Regions from separate parts of the Homo sapiens genome. Here region 2 is linked to region 1. Evidence: promoter capture Hi-C in human tissues and cell types (Jung and others, 2019). All regions are on one chromosome and are shown on one strand. Each heading gives the region's core, a stretch centred on a gene start or on the middle of the fragment in contact. The rest is flanking DNA. Distances are from core to core; before and after follow the strand shown. Region 1 holds the start of NYAP2 (neuronal tyrosine-phosphorylated phosphoinositide-3-kinase adaptor 2). Region 2 has its middle 170 kb from the start of NYAP2.

What was found. Contacts are between HindIII fragments. The study calls those that stand out against the background at their distance.
Region 2: a fragment that was not itself captured here is called in contact with the fragment with the promoter of NYAP2 in region 1 in 2 of the 25 tissues and cell types used here (adrenal gland and hippocampus).

What each region holds. Positions count from the first base shown.
Region 1 is chr2:225,396,534-225,403,485 of GRCh38, forward strand. NYAP2 (neuronal tyrosine-phosphorylated phosphoinositide-3-kinase adaptor 2) reads left to right here and starts at 3,177. Exons shown (of 8, transcript NM_001371273.1): 1 at 3,177-3,722; 2 at 4,028-4,510. The HindIII fragment of the contact is 4,626 bases long and covers 445-5,070 here.
Region 2 is chr2:225,226,749-225,233,700 of GRCh38, forward strand. No RefSeq gene overlaps it. Among named protein-coding and RNA genes, the nearest start is that of NYAP2, 170 kb to the right of the region's middle. The HindIII fragment of the contact is 5,034 bases long and covers 330-5,363 here.

The DNA of each region.
Region 1 (6,952 bases), core at 1,927-4,426:
TCAGTTTTCCCCCTTGGCACTGTAAAAGTAGTTTTTTGTGTGTATTATTAGACCATAAATCTTTTACTTTTTCTTTCTGTTTTAGCTACTGAGTATGCTGGATCTTGGAGCACCCATATCACCATTTGCTGCCCCACGACCCCTAAGTCATATGTGCAACTTCTGTCGACATCTACATTGTTATAGGCAAAAATCATGAGGAGCATATGGTTTTCATTCTACCAAGACTTTCATTTCACACTGTTACCAGAAGGGTTAGAAATCCTGATTGGATGGGAAGGAGATTAGCTTTTTCCTTAGTGGAATAATTTCATTTTAACAGAGGGGTCACCTTCCTAAGCTAAATGTGAAAAGAATGATAGAAAGAGTACAGATCATGGAAAAAAAAAAAAAACTAGAAAGGCTTTGTAGTAAATTTTGATATGACTTCAGAGAGTTCATCCTCACTTCATGTATTTGAATAAACCCTTTAAAATTTAGGTAACTAAATTATTCTATTTCAATTCTCACTTTTCTCATTTACGTCACTTTTATACAACAAGCACTTTCCACCATCTGGCTGATGTATAGAATAAGAAGCATTTTCAGGGCGCTGACTCGTCTGGTCTATCCAAGTTCACTGAAGGGACCTATTTAACCCCCAAAGCATCAAACTCTATTAATACAGTGTAACCAAAAGAGCTAAACTCTACCCTGACTAAAGAACTTTAAAAGAAATATCAAGTCATCAGGTATCTCAATGACTTGTTTCTTATTGACATCAATAAGATGTCTATTCAATAGAGTAGAAATAGAATAGAAACATCCATGTATTTTATAAAGATGCACAAGAAATAAACCAATACATGAGTATAATTTGAGCTTTTTAAATATCTCTATACCTTTATTCCCGATATGAGGATTTTTAACTTAAATTTTGTCCAACGCACTTTTCTCCAGATACTATTGAAATGAGTAGAGGTGCGTTCTGCATTTGGCTCTAAGATGATTTGCAAGAGTAAAGATGCTTTGCTGTTTCATTCAGTGAGACCTAAAGTAGTTCTGGGGTCCTTCTCAGCACGATCCTCAAAGGTTCTATAAACTCCTATACACTAATATGTCTCCAGAGAATATATTGCCCTGTCAGTGACATTGACACCTAGAATGAGGAAAGTGTGGGATTGAGAAAATGGGATTGGTAAAATGTGATGATTCTCAAGCCCTATTCTGTAATATAAAGAGAAAAAGAAAGAAAAAGAAAAAGGCAGGGAGGCAGGCAAGTAGGAAGGAAGGAAGGAAGTAAAGAAGGAAAAGAGGAAGGAAAGAAGGAAGGGAGAAAGGGAGGGAGGGATGAAGCAAGGAATGAAGGAAAGAAAGAAGAAACAAAACAAGGAAGGAAAGGGGAGGGAGGAGAGGGAGGAAGGAAGGAAGGAAAGAAAGAAAAAGATATATTTTCCTAAAGTTGAATATATGAAACTTAAAAGACCATCTATTGTTATAAATATGCTTTCTCTATTCTTCTAATATAAAGATTCCTTTTACTTTTTGAATTTTTGTGGTGAGGAAATGGCAGATTCTTCATTTTTTATGCTTGGCAACTGTATGTCAGCCTCTCCTCACTTTGTTTGGATTATTTTGGTGCATGAAATCAAGGGGACTGAGAACCACTGTACTGGCCAAAGATGAGGAGACCTGCAGTCAGCCCAGGGACCTTGGGTCTTAATCCTAATGAGGCAATTAAGTAAGTCAGAAACAAGTAAGTCTGTTTACTTATCTTGGTAGTATTTTTCTTACATATAGAAATGGGCTTTACACTAGAGCTTATTCAAGCTCTCCATAGTTCAAAATATAGACCCCCAGACTGGCAAAATTATCAGTCATGATAAAGTGTTTCCGTTTTCTAAAATGTCTGTCAATAATTTTTTTTTTGTAAAGAACTTTTTCCACCTTTGGTCATGTGCTGAAAGACAACATCTATGAGAACACTTCACTACCAAAATAATGGCACATTAGTAAACCTCTTGATCACAGTGTGGTGGCTGTTACTAGTTTATAAGTGGTGCTTGAGGCACTTTTCAGCAATGTGCTAAGTATTTAGAACCTTCATAAGGCAGAGAGAGAGAGAGAGAGAGGGAAAGGGAGAGCATTGGGATAGGGGGAAGAGAATATGAGAGAGGTCTGGCCTCTTCTCTTCCCCGTTTGTATTTCTCCTCCTTTTCATCTATCTAATCTTGCAGAATCCTTCTTAAAATTAAACAGATGTCCTGTTCTAACCAAAAGCTAGATACACAAAGACCAAGAAATAAGTGATGAGCTTCAGGAATGCACTTCAGGACATGTAAAATAGAAAAGCTTTATAGTAATGTAATGTGTTGATTTTATTTTTCCCCAGATACTTACAAGTTAAAGAAATATAATTTAAGAAAATTACAGCACAGTCTCAGGTGACATTTAAGAATTAGACAGGTGAACTTGTTTATTTTTGTGGTCTGTCAATGCATTAAAAACTAAATTCAGAAAACTATTTTCTAAGACTTTGGTTATGAATATAGACGTTAAAAAACACTCTTGGGAAAACCAACCTGCAAGTGAAGGTCATTTACAGTGAGTTACTGAAAAAGAATGTGAGGGGAAAAATCTATAGGTCACTATCAAGTAATAAGCACATCCCCTCCCATCAAAATTGCTTTTTAAGCTCATATCCATCAGAAACATATTATATATTATTCCTTTTATCATAGTGCAAAATTAATAGATTAAAACATGTACATTTTAGTTTTTACTGAGGAGGAGCCAGTATGAGAAAAACTTTGAGCTTAATAAATACAAATACACACAAACACACATATATAAGTTGTGGTATATAATGTGATATATATGTATATATTCAGTAGAGTATTAAGAACAGAATGAGGAGAGTCTTTGGGAAATATCAGAAATAGAATGACTTTAATTTTAACAATGAGTCTATAGGAATTAATGACATACATATCATAATTATTTTGCATCTTATTTTAGTTAAAAAAATGTGCAGTCCGAGTAAGACCTTTGTTCCACACACGTGTGTGCTGTGCATATTCTTTCTAAGTGGACTAGTTTTGTTCTCATGCCATGGGAGCAGGTGGCATGAAGCTGTTTTGATGAGGTTAAAAGGCTCCTCCCCTCTCTCCCCAAGCAGCAGCCTGAAGTACGTCAGCAGTAATTGTGTGCATGGCTCGGCTGTGCAGGGAGGGTGGAGGCAAAATTGATATCAAATAAGGGTATCAAACTGAGATCTAGATGTTCCATTTAAGTTGTTGTTCATTTTCATTAGCCACGCCAGGGGTGAAATGCTTATAACTTAACCATTCTCTGTAGTAAGAACATTTGTTTTCAATGGATTTATATTTTTCCTCTCCATAAAGACTGAATTAGTGCTATAGTGAATATAAATGAAGGGTGTTTCTTTACCCTCTTTTCCTTTTATTATTTACTAATCAGACTTCAGCTCAGTTAGATAAAAGAGAGAGGTTCTGTTGCCTAGATGTGAGGCCTTTAATGAGGATGGGAGCCCCCAGGGAGCCGAAATCCAAAGTAGAACGATGCCGCTTTCCGGTTTCTTGCAATTTCTTCAGTTGCTTCTCCCTTTTCCAATGGGCCTAGTGAGCAGGAACTATCCAAGGTGCTAGAACGCTGGCAGCCTTGCCGTTCAATGCAGACGGATTGCAGAAACAGAGAAGAAAGATTACTGCTTATTTCAGAAGGTAGGTTCTTTGTTTCAGAATCCCTGATTAATCAGCAGCAGCTTCAACAGACTAAGGCAGCTGGAGAGGAGAAAGAGAAGCAGGAAGGGAGGGAGTCAGGGGCAGGGAGGGAGGGAGGGAGTGGAGGGAGAGAGAATGAGAGAGAGAGAGCTGGTTGTCACGGGGGAGGGACTATGCCACAAGCTGGGCTGCTCCAAACCTTCTGTATGTAAGTGGCAATGAGAAAGAGCATCTTTTTGGCTGAAAGGAGACATTTAGAAAGGATGTTTCTGATTTTTTGTTTTCATTTATTTTTGTCTTCGCAGAATATAATCAAATGAGGTACATTAGCCAGCTTGGTGATTGCTTCTGGTCCTGTAATCATCTGTGTAGCAAAGTGGGTAAAATCATTCAATTTCTTCCCTGCTGGACCTGGAAGGAGAGGGGCTGTGTGTTCATCCCCACCCATTAGCTATGCCCTCTTTTCTCCGAATGTCGATTTAAGGAAGCAAGCACCTGTCTTCCGCCACTGCATCTTCCTAGCAAACTTTAAAGGCCATTTTATCTGATAGGAAGGACATCGAGAATGCTCTGATCTAGTGATGAAGAATCTGGGAGTCGACACTTTTCCCATCCAGACACAATGCACTTTAATTGAAGAAACACTGAGCTGAACTACAAGTCTATTTCTTATGGTGCTGGATTACTCCTACAGAACTGCCCTGAGATCAACCGTGAGAGAGGGCTCTGACAGACACAAGTCACCTTCTGGTTATTGCACTTAGCTCTCCCTGGGGACTTAAATTTTGGTATGTATCTCATTTTTCAGATTCTCTAAGCATGCTAATCGAATCCAGCACTGAATAGATCAAGCAATCTGGTGATAAAATGGAATGGATTTTAGTTAGGGATACTTAATGCTGAAGTTTGCATGCCTTATTAGGTGGAGCAGAAATAAAGCCACAGTGAAGGCATCCAGGGCTTTAGTGAGCCTGAGGCTATTTTTACTCCCTTACCCACTTAGTTACATTACCATGGAAATGGTTAAACTAGATTTTCATTAGTAAAATAAGCCATGTTGAATTATTAAAGCTTTGAAAATGTTTTCCAGGGTATTAATTGGCATTCAAGTTGTGCATGCTAGCTATTTATCCGCTATTCCATACCATAAATATTTTACAACTGTCTCTTAGCACATTTATGTCAGCAGTGAGAGCCCAATTTTACATTCTCAGGAGAAAAGACACAGTATCCCCCAAAATTCAAAACTACCAGACAAACAGCAAAGCCGACACTGCTTCTTCCTGACTGATTAGACATAAACCTCTTTGAGAAACATTTTTTAATACTATTCAATGTCAGAAAGATTTTATTAGTCTCATCACAATAAATATTTTCTGTAAAACTTTAGGTGGACTTGTTTTACTTGGGACATGTTCTTATTTTGTTGGGGTGTCTCCATCCTAATTTTTCCAACTACTCAGCAATATTTTAAATACAAGACATGTGAGTATTTCATATCTGGAAAAACTATTACATAAAATAATATTTTTCACTATCATTGGGAAATACTAAAGTTCTTTTGGTACCATAGAATTGGATTTTTTTTTCTAAATATAGCCGAAAAATAATGAAATTCTGAAAAGCTTACATGATGTAGTTTTAGTCATTTTAACATCCAAGCATTTATAACCAAGTAGTGTGGAATAACAAATATAGAGAAAGAGTGAAAATTAACTCTCTTCCTAATTCTTCACATTTTAGACAATGTTCTCATTTATTTTATATATTGTCAAGCACTAATTACACAAATTAATGAGAAAATGTGGTCCACAAATGCAGAAATTATTTTGTTTTCCTATGGAAAGTGCAACATACATGAGCCAACTCAGCAAAGAAAGGGACTATGTGAAGGACATAGACAGTTTAGAGAATTAGTGGAAACAGACCAGAGGAAAATATTACAACTGCACAAGGGACAGTGGAGAAGCCTGAGGACTTGAAGCATCTGTCAAGTTTAGAAAGAGAAGTGTAAAAATCCTAGACACAAGAAGGTTGGTTATTGTTTAAAAAAATAAATAAATTATAGACTCCCAATTCAATTAGATGGTTCCCACTGTAGCTCCAGTCAGCAATTTATTAGACTGACTACATCTACTTTGCAAATAATGCCTTGTAAGCATCTGGAACCATTTGGCCCAAGCCTCCAAAAAGTATCTCAGCCACTGGCATTTTGCATGAGTCTCCAATATTAATGGAAATGTACAATCTCTTTACACCATGGGCAAACAGCACCATGACAACCTGGAAGATGAGGGGGAGATACCAATTCATGATGCTACTGCATTAACACGATTTATGCCTATCTTACTCATTTTGGGAAGAGAGATAGTGGAGAAAAACTCACTGCAAAGTAATCTGCTTTCTGAGAAAAAAGCAATCAGTGTCTTTGTAGTCACTTTAGCAAGCTTTCTTGGTTGTAGCTTCAACATTTCCCATTTTGGGCAGAACAGCTGCATTTTGATGACACTGAGAATGAGAAAATGAGTGTGACCATTTGTGGGGTAGGGAGTAGGATTTCAAGCATAATCAAAGTGAAATTATAGGAGTAATGCTTGACAAATTATAAGATTTTATCAGAAAAAAATTTTGACATGGTTTACATGTGTTATGGGTTATAACCAGGCTAGTCTGATGATTTGGTCCTATGTGAAGTCAGCAAATTTTAAATATTAATTTGCATATGTATTTTACATATGTATCAGAAGCCTGATTATTTAAATCCTTACATTTTCATACACAATGTGTTTTCAAATTGGTTTGAGTACATGCAAAAGTTGTAAAAGATTTTTTTCTCCTGCTAAACAAAAACAACAAAAAATAGTCAAAATTGCCTTGGGAAACTTTTATTGGATCAATACTACTAGAAAAAAAGTAGGATTCTCTACCTCAAAGAAGATGCAATGATTGGAGTAGGAAGGAAACTCAAATCTTAATAACTCAAATTCTAATAACTTCCTCACAGCATTGAGACAGGTGTGGTTTAAAGAGCTCAGAAATATATAAAGGTGGAGACTAGAAAACTTTACCCTCTGCAAATAAAATAAAAACACAAATGTGAAGTACAATAAAAGTAAAATATTTAGGTTTCCATCAGGACATTTGTTCCATTCTATGTATTGTGTTCTTCTGGCTGGTCACAATTAGCATTATAATAATCGCACAAAATAAACTATCTTATTATAGCTATA
Region 2 (6,952 bases), core at 1,597-4,096, 170 kb before region 1:
ATCACAGTGAAAACCACACACAAATAGCTCTAAATCATAGCCTAAATTATGACTTCTGGATATTTTTAAAGGGCGATCAGGGTGGTATGGCATAGAGGGAGGTGGAATAGTCTTGTAGGAGGCAGATAGTGGAGGTTAGGAGCAAAAGCTTTTGAGTCAAAGAGATGGAATATTCAACAGTTTTGTAAAAATTCAACACGTCTCAGAGTATTAGACACAGTGAGTGGCACAAAATTAGGACATAAGTAACTGTGGCTTTGGTGGACATGGGAAAGTGCCTTTCAGATCATTGAAGAAAGTGAAACTGATTTAGGGTAGAAGCTGGTGATTCTGAAATTTATTGCTGTGTAAGTGCTAATGACTGTGGCAAAGACACCGAGACAGACAGTTCCTGGGAGATTAGGTGATGGGTAGATTCTTTCTGACAGGTGACTTTGGGTGAAGGACTCCTCAACAGTCTGGCTGAATTTCCTTTAAAACTGCTCTGCAGTCTAAGATGTTTCTACCCAAGCTTCCTTTCTCCCTTCTCTCCTTCACTTGAGATCAGAAATGCATGGAGATCTGATGGCACTCCCAGCCTCTTTCAATATTGTTCCCATTTTCAGTCACAGGTGTTTTCCTTAAGATTTTCTTTCACATTGGATTCAGTCTTGACCTCTGTTTCTCAGAGAACGTTGACAAATACAGAAGCTACTTGTCACTGTTGTTGATATTAATTTACTATTTCTGTGGGCAATAATTTTTAAACTTAGGGATGTATTCAGTGGGACTTCTGTTGAGATATTTAATGGGAGATAGATTTTTATTTTTATGACAATGAGTGGATTAAACCGGGATGTCCTTGAGTGAGGGGAAAGGGTTACAATGGCAGTAATGGTCTAGACCCATGCATTCTGACCCCAAAAGCCAAAATCATTTCTAACAAATCATTTTCTATTCTGTTCTTAATTATTTATGAACATCTGTCCACCACTTATGACACTCTATTTCACTATTGTGTCATTTTGATGATAGAGGAGTTATTCTTAAAATCTCATGAAAAGATCCCCTTTTAAATATCGCTTTAAAAATCTCTACAGATGCAGAGAACAACCCCATTCAATCCTTCAAGATTGTAATCAGGTCACCATTTCGTATTTTTTTTTGTTCTAGTATAAAGAGCCAATTTCATTCATTAGTTTGTATATTCATTTTTAGCAAGTAATTTGGGTGCCTTATTATACTATTTTTTGCCAATTTCATTATTTCTGTTTGTATTTCTTGAACTCTCTCCAATTATTCTAGAATTTTTTAAAGGCTGATGATCAATATTAGGCATTATTATAATAAGGATCTCACTTGCTGAAAGGATTACTCACTCTTTCACTTTAATGTTATATTATTATATCACTTCTGTTCTTCAAATCCTATTGCCAACATCACTTCTGTGCCAACCACTAGAAAGGTATGTACTAATATTTCACTTGTGATCAAACACTGCTTCAGATTTTTTTTTCCTTAATTTCATTTAGTAATCTTCTTTAGTGGTGTGTTGCATATCTATTCTGTTTTGCAATCTTAGTACCAGCATCTGGCTAATTTATTTACAGTGTTTTTTTCTTTAAGTTCTTCTTTTTGTTTCATTGAACAACTTGATATAAAATGAAGGTAGAAATTCAGTCTCACTCATTTATGAGTTGTGTGCCTAGGACAAATTACTTAACTCCCTCATTTCCTAATGTAAAAAATGAGGATAATTATACCCAGATGATAAGTAAAATGTGGAAAACAAATGACATAGTAACATAAAGTAAGCACTGATGTGTCCGGAATTGGTGGGTTCTTGGTCTCACTGACTTCAAGAATGAAGCCGCGGACCCTCGTGGTGAGTGTTACAGCTCTTAAGGTGGCGCGTCTGGAGTTTGTTCCTTCTCATATTCGGATGTGTTCGGAGTCTCTTCCTTCTGATGGGTTCGTGGTCTCGCTGGCTCAGGAGTGAAGCTGCAGACCTTCGTGCTGAGTGTTACAGCTCTTAAGGCAGCACATCTGGAGTTGTTTGTTCCTTCTGGTGGGCTCGTGGTCTCGCTGGCTTCAGGAGTGAAGCTACAGACCTTCACGGTGAGTGTTACAGCTCATAAAAGCAGCGTGGACCCAAAGAGTGACCAGTAGCAAGATTTATTGCAAAGAGTTAAAGAACAAAGCTTCCACAGTGTGGAAGGGGACCCCATCGGGTTGCCACTGCTGGCTCAGCAGCCTGCATTTATTCTCTTATCTGGCCCCACCCACATCCTGCTGATTGGTAGAGCCCAGTGGTCTGTTTTGACAGGGCGCTGATTGGTGCGTTTACAATCCTTGAGCTAGACACAAAGGTTCTCCACGTCCCCACTAGATTAACTACATACAGAGTGTTGACACAAAGGTTCTGCAAGGCCCCACCAGAGTAGCTAGATACAGAGTGTGGATTGGTGCACTCACAAACCCTGAGCTAGACACAGAGTGCCGATTGGTGCATTTACAATCCCTGAGCTAGACATAAAGGTTCTCCAAGGCCCCACCAGAGCAGCTAGATACAGAGTACCCACTGGTGCATTTACAATCCCTGAGGTAGACATAAGATTCTCCACGTCCCCACCAGACTCAGGAGCCCAGCTGGCTTCACCCAGTGGATCCCGCATCGGGGCTGCAGGTGGAGCTGCCTGCCAGTCCCGCGCCATGCGCTCGCACTCCTCAGCCCTTGGGTGGTAGATGGGACTGGGCGCCGTGGAGCAGGGGGCGGGCGCTCGTCGGGGAGGCTCGGGCTGCACAGGAACCCACGGAGGCGGGGGAAGGCTCAGGCATGGCGGCCTGCAGTCCTGAGCCCTGCCCCGAGGGGAGGCAGCTAAGGCCTGGCGAGAAATCGAGCGCAGCGCCGGTGGGCCGGCACTGCTGGGGGACCCAGTACACCCTCCGCAGCCGCTGGCCCGGGTGCTAAGCCCCTCATTGCCCGGGGCCGGCAGGGCCGGCCTGCTGCTCCGAGTGCGGGGCCCGCCAAGCCCACACCCTCCCGGAACTCCAGCTGGCCTGCAAGCGCCGCGCGCAGCCCCGGTTCCCGCTCGCGCCTCTCCCTCCACACCTCCCTGCAAGCTGAGGGAGCCGGCTCTGGCCTTGGCCAGCCCAGAAAGGGGTTCCCATAGTGCAGCGGTGGGCTGAAGGACTCCTCAAGTGCCGCCAAAGTGGGAGCCCAGGCAGAGGAGGCACCGAGAGCGAGTGAGGGCTGTGAGGACTGCCAGCACGCTGTCACCTCTCACTGGCATAAAGTAAGTCCTCAAATGCTAATGTTCTTCACGTAGATGTGGCCATTTACTTTATGTACACTAAATTGCAATAAAAGAAAGCTTAATTTGAGAGAGAATGTATCTGAAGAAAACCTTCAAAAAAGCTCAGAAAGGGAATATAGTCTCAGTGCTTTTAGAAACAGCACATTTGACTGGCTTAAAAGAATGAAACCAGGTATCATATTCTTTTCATTCATTTTTGCTTTAATTTACAGCAGAGACATGAGGAAAATGCTCCCCTCCCCAACTAAGACACTGAGAAAATATTCCAATACAAAAGAAACATGCATTTATTTTCTCAAAAAGGGAGAGAGATGTTTTTCATTAGACCAAAGGAGAAAATACCAACGGAGAAAAGCTAGGAATAAAAAATAAAGAAACCTTAGACATGTAGCTACCTACAAATATTGGAAACATTGTCATATAGAAAAGGGATTAAGTTTGTTCTGAGTGGGCCAGGAACTGTGGTTAGTGCAATGACAAATGAAAGAGAACTAAGAGAAAAACTTTTTAAACCTGAAAGGCACTCAAAAGTGGAATGGATCAACAACTCAGGATGCATTAGTTTCAAATGACAGAGGCTGGAGAATCACTCTGTTTACATAGAGAACACGTTGGCTGCATTAGACCTGTATGTATCAAGCTCACCTGTAGTACAGAGCAGGAAACTCCCTGAATGACCCTATGGGGACCATTGGAGTAAGGGGCCAGGGAGAAATGGAGGGAGAGAGAAGTCCCCTTGCAACTACTGAGCTATTAAAGAGGTGGAGGTAGAAAGGAACTGGAGGGAGACCACATGTATTTGCCTAGCCCGTCATTGCACGAATGGTTGGCAAACAGGCATCTAAGCGTATCCATTCTTTCAGGTGGCCCTACTCTGCTAAGGCACTGGGGTGGAAATAGTGCAGTGGACAAGGTATTTGTATTTCCTGACTTTTGAAGCGTCAAGGTAAACTCAAATGACTGTTACTGACAAGTAAGAAAACAGGTGATGAAATTGAATAATATCAGTTTTGAAAGTGCTATGAAGGAAGTAGGTGAAGGATTGATAGAGAAAACTGGGAATAAGAGTGGATAAGGCAGAGAAGACTTCTGTAAGGAGCTGTCCTTTATTAATCTGGGTGCTTTATAAAATAAAGAAAAGAAAAGACGAGATAGATGATTGATAGATGGATGGATGGATAAATAGATAGATAGATAGATAGATAGAAAGCCAAATATGCAAATAGGGAAAGGAAAGCATCAGCAAGTAGTGAAAGCTCATGGCGTTTTCTTGGAAATGACAGAAACCCATGAGATCATTAGATTTGATCTGTGTGAGGCTATAGTGATGGTTGGGACATTTTAGGAATTTAATTTTACTATAACAGAAATGGGAAACTATTGAAGAGATTTAAGACAAGCAATCAGAAAAAATATATATTTAAGAATTGGTTTTGAAATGTTCCACTATTTTGAAACAAAACTAATAGAAAATTTGCAAAAATAGTATAATGAATTTCTTTACACTCTAAATTTGTGACTTATCATGTATCCTCTCTTTATATAGAAAAGAACTATTATTATTATTGTTATTACTACTGAGCCATTCGAATGTGGGTTATAGACATCATGGCCCTTTACCCAAAAGTATTTCAGTATCTCGAAGGAAAAATGACTTCCTCTTATGTAACTCCAATGCAATCACCAAATTTATTAATTATAAAATTGTTGTACTATCTAATATATAAAGAATATTTAGGCCGGGTGTGGTGGCTCACAGCTGTAATTCCAGCACTTTGGGAAGCTGAGGCGGGTGGATCACCTGAGGTCTGGCATTTGAGATCAGCTTGGCTAACATGGTGAAACCCCATCTCTACTAAAAATACAAAAATTAGCCAGGCATGGTGGTGGGCGCCCATACTCCCAGCTGAGCAGGAGAATCGCTTGAACCCGGGAGGTGGAGGGTGCAGTGAGCTGAGATTGCACCACTGCAGTCCAGTGTGGGTGACAGAGTGAGACGCTGTCTTAAAAAAAAAATAAATAAATTTTCCAACTGTCTCTGTAAATTCTTTACACGCAATTAGCTCCATTGTCTGGGTCCAGGATTCATTCCAGGATCACACACTGCATCTAGTTGCCATGATTTCTTTGTCTTCTTGGTCCGGAAGAGGTCTCAGCCTTTGTCTTTCCTGACACTGACATTTTGAAGAGTATAGGCCAATTGAGGTACAAACTCACAGCCCTTTAATTTGAAGTTGTCCCATGCTCCATCATGATTACATTCAGGTAATGCATTTTTGGCAGGAATACCACTGAAGCGATGTCCTTTTACAGGAATAATACAGAAATTATGACTCTCTTACTTCATTACATTAGATAATATTCACTTTGTCCCATTAATTAGTGGTATTAACTTTGACTAATTGTTTAGGGTGGAAAAATCTGCTAGGTTTCTACACTAGAAAGTTTATTATTTTTCCCTTTCTCGGGGGATACTTTGAGAATATGTAAACATGCAGTTTTTTTATTAAACTTTACTTAGTGGTATTTAGCACTACTGGTAATTCTTACCTGAATCAATTATTATTACGATGGTTGAATTTTATAACTCTTCCGTTCTTTTTACATTAGTTGTCATTCTTATTTACTTATTTCTTACTTAAAATTGTTTACTTGCTTAGGTATTTACTCATTTATTCTCAGTACGAACTCATAGATTCTTGTTTTATCTATGGTTTAAAATCTATCCCTGCATTATTCATTTTGCAGCACAAATTGTCTTTACTTCGCCAGTGGCTGCTCATTTAACCTGGGTCATTTTTTCCTTCAACGTATTCCCATCAGTTTTGGGGTACTTCCTTATTTGTTTGTCATAATGATTCCAGGTACATCTTGTTTCCCCCTTCCAAACCTGGCTCTTTTACTGGAGAGTGGTGTTTAGAAAGTAACATCTAGGTGAAGTTCATCCTTGGAGTGGCGTGAGGAGCATGGAATATTGCAGGAGAGAAGATAATTCACCAGAGACTGTTGCATTCATCTGAGTGAAAGATTGCGATGATCTAGTCCAAGGTGATGGTAATGGAGAGATGGAGATAAAAGGACACGTTTTCCATATGGAAATTGATAATAAAGGTTGGATATTGAGGGCGAGGAAGAAAATGGGGATTCAAATGTAATCTCAAGCTACCGGAACCAGTGCTCAAGCGGGTGTATATATAATATTGCTCTACTTCGATGTCTTGTCCACGCTCACATATTGATGATTTTATACCCTGGGTGCAGCTGGGTGTTGTGGGGTGTCTTTTTGTCGACTGTGCTGGATGTGACCACACTTGCATCTGCATTTGTGGGGTCATGTTCACATGTTGCCATGGCAACCTCCCAGGCTACAGTTGCATGGTGGCCTCAGTGGTTTTCATGATTAGAAGCCTCTGGAATCAACTGCCTGAAGGTACTTGGAGGTGACTCAGCTGGTTCCAAATAGTATTCAGTGCCTCGTTCCTGCCTTTAGAAACAGGGAACTAACAGAGGGAATATTCTCAGGGCTTCTTCAGCAGAGGAATAGTGATTAAAAGTTTGAAATCAGATGACAGAAAATGCTAGTTTGTGAATAAATAGGATCTGGTTTTCCTATTGTAAATGTACAATTTGAAATTGGAATATAGGGATGTAGGAAA